2 separate regions of the Homo sapiens genome follow, and region 2 is linked to region 1. Evidence: promoter capture Hi-C in 16 types of primary human blood cells and fetal thymus (Javierre and others, 2016). All regions are on one chromosome and are shown on one strand. The core of a region is centred on a gene start or on the middle of the fragment in contact, and the rest is flanking DNA. Distances in the headings are between cores, read along the strand shown. Region 1 holds the start of FTSJ1 (FtsJ RNA 2'-O-methyltransferase 1). Region 2 has its middle 7.0 kb from the start of GPKOW.

Evidence for each region. The method cuts DNA at HindIII sites, captures the fragments that hold promoters and counts their contacts. A CHiCAGO score of 5 or more calls a contact.
Region 2: a fragment that was not itself captured here is called in contact with the fragment with the promoter of FTSJ1 in region 1 in 1 of 17 cell types (neutrophils); the score reaches 5.3 in neutrophils.

The regions. Positions count from the first base shown.
Region 1 is chrX:48,473,653-48,477,671 of GRCh38, forward strand. FTSJ1 (FtsJ RNA 2'-O-methyltransferase 1) reads left to right here and starts at 2,547. Exons shown (of 13, transcript NM_012280.4): 1 at 2,547-2,744. It overlaps LOC124905185 (a long non-coding RNA gene), which reads right to left and starts at 2,691. Exons shown (of 2, transcript XR_007068226.1): 1 at 2,227-2,691; 2 at 576-1,536. The HindIII fragment of the contact is 16,848 bases long and covers 1-4,019 here.
Region 2 is chrX:49,128,682-49,132,700 of GRCh38, forward strand. No RefSeq gene overlaps it. Among named protein-coding and RNA genes, the nearest start is that of GPKOW, 7.0 kb to the left of the region's middle. The HindIII fragment of the contact is 7,777 bases long and covers 1-4,019 here.

The DNA of each region.
Region 1 (4,019 bases), core at 1,297-3,796:
AGTCCCCTGCCCCTGGGCCACCCCCCTCGTTCCCTCACACTGCTAAGATGCCCCCACCGGGAAAGAGCTGGCCTGGCAGCTCCCCCTTCCTTGACCCCTCCAGGAGGCCAAGGGAAGGACACCTTTACACTCAGTGGGGTGCCGGGTGGGAGCTGCAGGCCGACACCCTACTTCGGGAAGAGCCTGGAGAGTTCAGAGCCTGGCTCCTGTCCCCCAAACCCCCGGTCCTGCTGGAGGAAGCAAGTTTCTTTGCTAAAAGTTAAACATCCTCTTCGTGAGCGACAAGAAAACAGGACGTGGGAAGCGTCCCACAGGGTGAACATGGGCCCCCAATGCCTGGCACCCCCTCCTCTCTTGTGGAGCGGAGGCCTGGTGGCTCGAACCCTTCCTTTCTCACACTCGCTCGCCTCTGCAGGGGAGTCATGTTCCCACAGTCCCACAATGCCCTTGAGTTCTGCTGACAAAGCTCTGGCTTCTTCCCTGGTTCTCAGAGTCTCTACGCCTCCACCCAGGGCTCCATAGAAATGCAGGACGCACCACTGGGGAAAAAATTAAGGAACGAAGCAACAAAAGGATGAATTCAACCAACATTTATTGAACACCAACTGTGCGCCACCCCTGTTCCAGGCACTGGGAGGCAGCAGTGAACATGACAGAACAGGAATCCCTGCCTGGTGAAGCTCGTGTGCTAAGGAATCAATCATTCTGTTTTTTTTTTTTTTCTTGAGACAGGGTCTCACTCTGTCGCCCAAGCTGGAGTGCAGTAGCACGATGTCGGCTCACTGCAACCTCCACCTCCCAGGTTCAAGTGATCCTCCCACCTTGGCCTCCTGAGTAGCTGGGACTAGAGGTGCGCATCACCACGCCCAGCTAATTTTTGTATTTTTAGTAGAGACGGGGTTGCACTATGTTGGCCAGGCTGGTCTCCAACTCCTGACCTCAAGTGATCCCCCCGCCTCGCCCTCCCAAAGTTCTGGGATTATAGGCGTGAGCCACTGCATCCAGCCCTTTTATTTTTTAAAGAGACATGGGTTCTCGCTATGTTGCCCAGACTAGATTCAAACCCCTGGGCTCCAGGGATCCTCCCACCTCAGCCTCTGGAGTAGCTGGGACTAAAGGCACATGCCGCCGCCCCTGGCTAATACTCATATGCATGTTGCCAGGATTAAAATGAATGAACAAAGGGAAGGACATGCTGGAGCCAACTTATACAGGTTGGGAGGAGCTGTTCAATTTTCAGAAATTTTGCAAACTGGTTGTTAAACAGCTGGTTTAACAACTGGTTTTGTTTGTTTGTTGAGACAGGGTCTCACTCTGTCACCCACAGTGGAGTGCAGTGGCAAGATCAAGGCTCACTGCAGCCTTGACCTCCCAGGCTCATGCAATCCTCCCACCTCAGCCTCCCAAGTAGCTGGAACTACTCGCACACACCACCACGCCCGGCTATTTTTATTATTTGTAGAGACGGGGATCTCACCATATTGCCCAGGCTGGTCTTGAAGTCCTGGACTCAAGCGATCCTTCCACCTCAGCCCCCTAAAGTTAAACAGCTATGGTTAAAAATGAAATGATATAAACTTACTCAAAACTGGTAACTTCCTAATTTTACCACATTCCACTATTCTCTATGCTCTTGAGGTCATTTACCCCCATTTTATCTGTATGGTAAAAATAATACATGATAGTGCACTACTGCATCTCTTTTAAACTCCCTGTTCAGTGACCACAGGTCGGTACCTTGAAATCTAACAAGAAGATTGTACCTAAGCCATGGAAATTGGTAAATGCTAGAAACCAGCCTCCCTTCCCCCCACCCCTCCCCGCCACCACCCCCGCCCCAGCCAGTGGTTAACCATTTACCAGCACACCACTGAGGGCATTTAGAGCCTAGCACATGGTAAACACTATGATAAACGTTTTCATTATTTTTCCGTTTGTCCACTGGGTCAGGATGTATAGTCTTTTTTTGTGTCTGGGATGGAATTTAAAATATTTGAAGATCACAGAATTACAAAAGCCCAGAGAGTGGCTAAGCTACACCTATTTAACCCTCCCAATAATGCTGTTAAGTCTATACTATTGATTATCCCCACTTTCCAGACAGGGAAACTGAAGTTCTGAGGCAGTAAAACTCAGGCAGCGCCATGCATTAGCTGTAGTGCGATCTGAAATTGCAGCCGAGCAGCCTCCGCGCGCTCGCGCACTTCAAGAACGCATTTTCCTTACTGTCACGTTTATGCCCCGAGTGGTAATTTCGCTTCCCGGCACGCGAAAAATGAATGGGCGCCATCTTGCGCGTGGCATCTTGGGAAATGTAGTTTACAGGCTCAATAACAAGCACGGTCCAAGAAGGGAGGGGCGGGGGAGCAAATCGATCTTGGCCTCGGAAGAAAAAGAACAAAGAATCGCTGGCAACTTGCGCGTCGCGTCGCTGCAGCCACGCAGTGCGTGGATTCAGCCGCTTTGGCCGTGCCCGTTGCATGCCGGGAAACGCAGTTCGCGAGCCCCGGATACGTCGACAATAGATGACGGGGCTCACGTTGTACGTTCACATCAGGTCCCGGCCCGCCGGAACCTGGGCGATCCACGATGCCGAGTTTGCCACGCTGCGACAGCCCATAGGCTTGCCCCCCCGGGCATTCGGGTGGACTACGAACACAAACTGAAGCCCTAGGACTTGTCGCCCGTTTGCGCTCTCGCCGAGGCACAGGCTGCTCGCGGACCACCCTGCTCCGAAAACTAAGGTGGGCCCTGGGGCGCGGAGGACAGGAATGCGGGCGGAGGCTATTGAGGCACGCCTGCACTGTCCCGCCTGCGGGGAAAGGAGGGAGGTCCGCCCTGGGCGCCGTAGCTGTGTATGGTTCGGGCGGCTGGCACCGGGTGGGTTCTAGACCCAAGGTTTGTCTGCAGAAGGGGACCAGTAGACGGGGTGGATTCGAGGTGGGGACATGGGACGCAGCGGTCGGAGCCGCCTGGAGGGGTACCCGGTGGTCCCGATGGAGCTATCATCTTTGAGGTATTGATGAGGAGGGACGGGGAGTGTGGTCAGAAGGCTGTTTTGGGAGGTTGGGTGGAGCGTGAGGGTGGGGTGTTACTGGGGAATCAATGGGGGCTAATAAGAATATTTTAGTCGAACTGTTGTTCATTGATTGATTAATGAGGGGATGGCAGAGTAAGCAACTAGAATATAACGAGTGATGGATGGGAAAATGATCCCCCAGGTATTGATGGAGGTATGATATTCAACGGGTTAATGGAAAGTGATGGGGCATCGTAATGGCAAGGATGATGGTGAGGTTGTGGGGGGAATAATAGATGGATGGAGGTCATGATCAAGGGGCCTTGGTGAAAGAAAAGATAATGAGAGGCTGATGGTGTTGTAGTCAGAGTCAGTAGTTGGGCTATGGTGGCATGACCGTCGAGGAATTAGGGGACAGAGTGAGTAAAGAGAGGGCAATAGTAAACTAGGGTTGGGGGGGTTAACTTCTGTTGATACATAGTAGGTGAATAGTAAACTGTTGGAGTGTGATCATCCAGTGATGGATCCATGGAGAGCAGGGTGGACAGTGAGGGGAGAATGGGGAACTGATGTGTGATCAGTTAACGTGTTTGTTAATGAAAGAGTTACAGGGCAGGAGGCTAGTGCTGTGATCTATGAAGGGTCTATTGGAGAAAACTGAGTTAATGGGGGCTGATAAATCAGTAATTGAATGCTTAATGGGGAGCTAATAGACCATGATTCTCCAGGCATTGTTAGAGGTTCATAAGGATGTAGTAATAAAGGGGCCTAATCATCTAAGGGATTAATGGCGAATGGGGTGAAACGAGAGAGATATAGGGAGTGGGAGGTACAATGAAGTAGTATTAGGATAAAGGTGGAAAACAAGGGATTAATGGGGGCTAATAGGACTATATGAATCTAGGGGCAATGGGGACAACTGGGGATACAGTCAGTGAGATTTTAATGGGCATGACATGAGCAGAGAAGGGTTGATAGTGGCAGTTGCAGGGTTTAATGT
Region 2 (4,019 bases), core at 827-3,326, 650 kb after region 1:
GCGTGGTGGCGAGCGCCTGTAGTCCCAGCTACTCAGGAGGCTGAGGCATGAGAATGGTGTGAACCCGGGAGGTGGAGGTTGCAGTGAGCGGAGACTGCGCCACTGCACTCCAGCCTGGGCGACAGAGTGAGACCCCGTCTCATTAAAAAAAAAAAAAAAAAGAATTTCTCCTGCCTTAGCTTCCCGAGTAGCTGAGATTACAGGCACCCGCAAACGCCCGGCTAATTTTTGTATTTTTAGTAGAGGCAGGGTTTCACCATATTGGCCAGAGTGGTCTCGAACTCCTGACCTCGTGATCCACCCGCCTCGGCCTCCCCAAGTGCTGGGATTACAGGTGTGAGCCACCGTGCCCGGCCTTTTTTTTGTTTTTTGAGATGGAGTCTCATTCTGTGGCCCAGGCTGGAGTGCAGCAGCGCCATCACGGCTCACCGCAACCTTCACCTCCTGGGTTCAAGCAATTCTCCTACTTCAGCCTCCCAAGTAGCTGGGATTACAAGTGCGTGCCACCACGCCCAGCTAATTTTTGTATTTTTAGTAGACGGGGTTTCACCATGTTGATCAGGCTGGTCTTGAACTCCTGACCTCAGGTAATCCACCCACTTTGGCCTCCCAAAGTGCTGGGATTACAGGTATGAGCCACCACGCCTGGTCCAAAAAATACTTCTGAAAAATATAGTTCACTTATTTTCTGGAACACCCCTCAATATAGATTTGTCTTGTGATTTCTCATTTATTAGACTGAGATTATGAGTTTTGGGCAAGAATGTCATGGAGATGATGTGCCCTTCTAATCACATCATATCAAGGAGTTCATGATGTTGATAAGTCCTATTGTTAATTACATGAACATGAATCAGTTGGTTAAGGTGTTGTCTACCAGGTTTCTCCACTGGTTCCATTGCCTGCAATGCAAACTGTCCGTGGAGGAAGTGATACCCACTTCCTAAAGCAGCCGCCTGAGGCAATGTGCGCAATGCAGCCTTATACACGCTGGCACAAGAGGTCCCTGAAGGAGTTTTGTTTTTTGTTTTTAAGCAAGAGTTCCTAGGAAAACCTGAGAGTTTTACCTTCTCAGCTGGTTCACACTTTGTCTCTGACTTGCTCCTGAGATGTATCATGGAGATCACCCCAGCCTAACCTGATCCTGATGCATTTTTTTTTTTGAGACAATCTTGCTCTGTCACCTAGGCTGGAGTGCAGTGGCGTGATCTTGGCTCACCGCAACCTCCATCTTCCGGGTTCAATCGATTCTCCTGCCTCAGCCTCCCGAGTAGCTGGGACTACAGCCATGCGCCACCTCGTTCTGCTAATTTTTGTATTTTTAGTAGAGATGGGGTTTCACCATGTTGGCCAGGCTGGTCTCGAACTCCTGAGCTCAAGTGATCCACCCGCCTTGGCCTCCCAAAGTGCTGGGATTATAGGCGTGAGCCACCACAGCAGAACTTGATGCAAAATTTTTGGTGGTGAAAATATAATGGTGACTCATGCCTGTATCCTCAGCTACCCTGGAGGCAAAGGTGGGAGTGTTGCTTGTACCCAGGAGTTTGAGACCAGGCTGGGCAACATAGTGAGATCCTGTCTGTAACAAAAGAATAAAAAAGAGGGAGGAAGAAAAATATATAATAAGAGAAAAGACCTTTGTTTCTGTCTTTACTTCATACTGAAAAAATCAGGAGTAACATTTAGAAAAGTATTTGCTTACCATATAATTAAGGAAAACCATATCCAAGTTTTACAAAACCAGCCATTTATTCTTTTGCTCATTCAATAATCATTAATTGAGTATCCACTCTGTTAACAGGTCCTGCCTCCAAGGAACTCATATGAGATGGGAAAATCAGGGATTACAAATGTGTCTAAGACCTCAGACACAGATGGCTGTAGGGAAGGGTGGTCAAACAGACAAAATGGGGATTAATTGTGCCCAGCACTACTTCCAAAATGGACCGAAGACTGAAAAAGGATTGTGAAGGATGGCAGGAAGTGAAGTTGGAGTGAGGTGCAGAGGCTAGGTCATGGATAGCAGGGAATATTAGGACTTTGCTGGGGTAATGAGGAAGTCATGAGAAGGTTATGGGACATGACAAAAATTTGTGTTTTATTTAAAAGTATTTAAAAAAAAAGGTAGAACAGCCTGGGCAACATGGCAAAACCCCATCTTTACAAAATATACAAAAATTGGCCTGGCGCGGTGGCTCACACCTGTAATCATAGCACTTTGGGAGGCCTAAGCGGGTGGATCACGAGGTCAGGAGGTCAAGACCAGCCTGGTCAATATGGTGAAACCCTGTCTCTACTAAAAATACAAAAATTAGCCAGGCGTGGTGGTGCACACCTGTAATCCCAGCTACTCAGAAAGCTGAGGCAGAAGAATCGCTTGAACTTGGGAGGCGGAGGTTGCAGTGAGCTGAGATCATGCCACTGCACTCCAGCCTGGGTGACAGAGTGAGACTCCATCTCAAAAATAAAATAAAATAAAATATAAAAATAAAATTATTAGCAGGGCATGGTGGCAGGCGCCTGTAATCCCAGCTACTCGGGAGGCTGAGATGGGAGGATTGCTTGAGCCCAGGAGGTCAAGGCTGCAGTGAGCCAAGATCGTGCCACCGCACCCCAGCCTGGACAACAGAGCAAGACCCTGTTTCAAAAAAACCCCAAAAAGTAACATGCATAAAACATACAGGGTCAACATCCCCAAAATGCAAAGAGCTCCTCCAATTCAATAACTATCAACTGCAGGAAATCCCTGACTGAAAAATAGGCAATGGACATAATCAGGTATTTCATAACATAAGATATACAGGCTGGGAACAGTGGCTCATGCCTGTAATCCCAGCACTTTGGGAGGCCAAGGTGGGCGGATCACCTGAGGTCAGGAGTTCGAGACCAGCCTGGCCAATATGGTGAAACCCCATCTCTATTTTTTGTAAAAATACAAAAAAATTAGCTGGGCGTGGTGGCGGGCACCTGTAATCCCAGCTACTCGGGAGGCTGAGGCAGGAGAATCGCTTGAACGTGGGAGGCGGAGGTTGCAGTGAGCCGAGATCGCGCCATTGCACTCCAGCCTGGGCGACAAGAGTTAAACTCCATCACACAGACACACACACACACACACACACACACACACACACACACACGAAAAGAAAAAAAGAAAAAAAAGAAAGAAGTACAAATCACGGCCGGGTGCGGTGGCTCACTCCTATAATTCCAGCACTTTGTGAGGATGAGGCGGGCGGATTACCAGGTCAAGAGTTTGAGACCAGCCTGGCCAACATGGTGAAACCCCATCTCTACTAAAAATACAAAAATTAGCTGGGCGTGGTGGCAGGCCCCTGTAATCCCAACTACTCAGGAGGCTGAAGCAGGAGAATTGCTTGAACCTGGGAGGTGGAGGTTGCAGTGAGCTGAGATTACGCCACCGCACTCCAGCCTGGGGAACAACAGCAAAACTCCATCTCAAAAAAAAAAAAAAAAAAAAAAAGAATTAGTTCACTTTGGAAGGCTGAGGCAAGACAATCACTTGAGGCTGGGAGTTCGAGACCAGCCTGGGCAACTTAGCAAGACCCCCCCCCCCACGCCCATCTCTCCAAAATTAAAAAATTAGCCTTGCATGGTGGTGCCTGCCTGTAGTCCAAGTTATTGGGGAGACTGAGATGGGAGGATTGCTTGAGCCCAGGAGTTGGAGGCTGCAGTGAACTATGATGCCACTTACTTTATCGATAAATAAGTGTCTTAGACTGTTTATGTTGCTATAAGGTAATAACTGAGCCTGATTTATTTATTTATTTATTTATTTATTTATTTATTTATTTTTGAGACAGAGTCTTACTCTGTCACCCAGGCTGGAGTGCAGTGGCACGATCTCAGCTCACTGCAACCTCTGCCTCCCGGGTTTAAGCGATTCTCATGCCTCAGCCTCCCGAGTAGCTGGGACTGCAGGCATGTGCCACCATGCCCGGTTAATTTTTGTATTTTTAGTAGAGACGGAGGTTTCACCATGTTGGCCCGGCTGGTCTTGA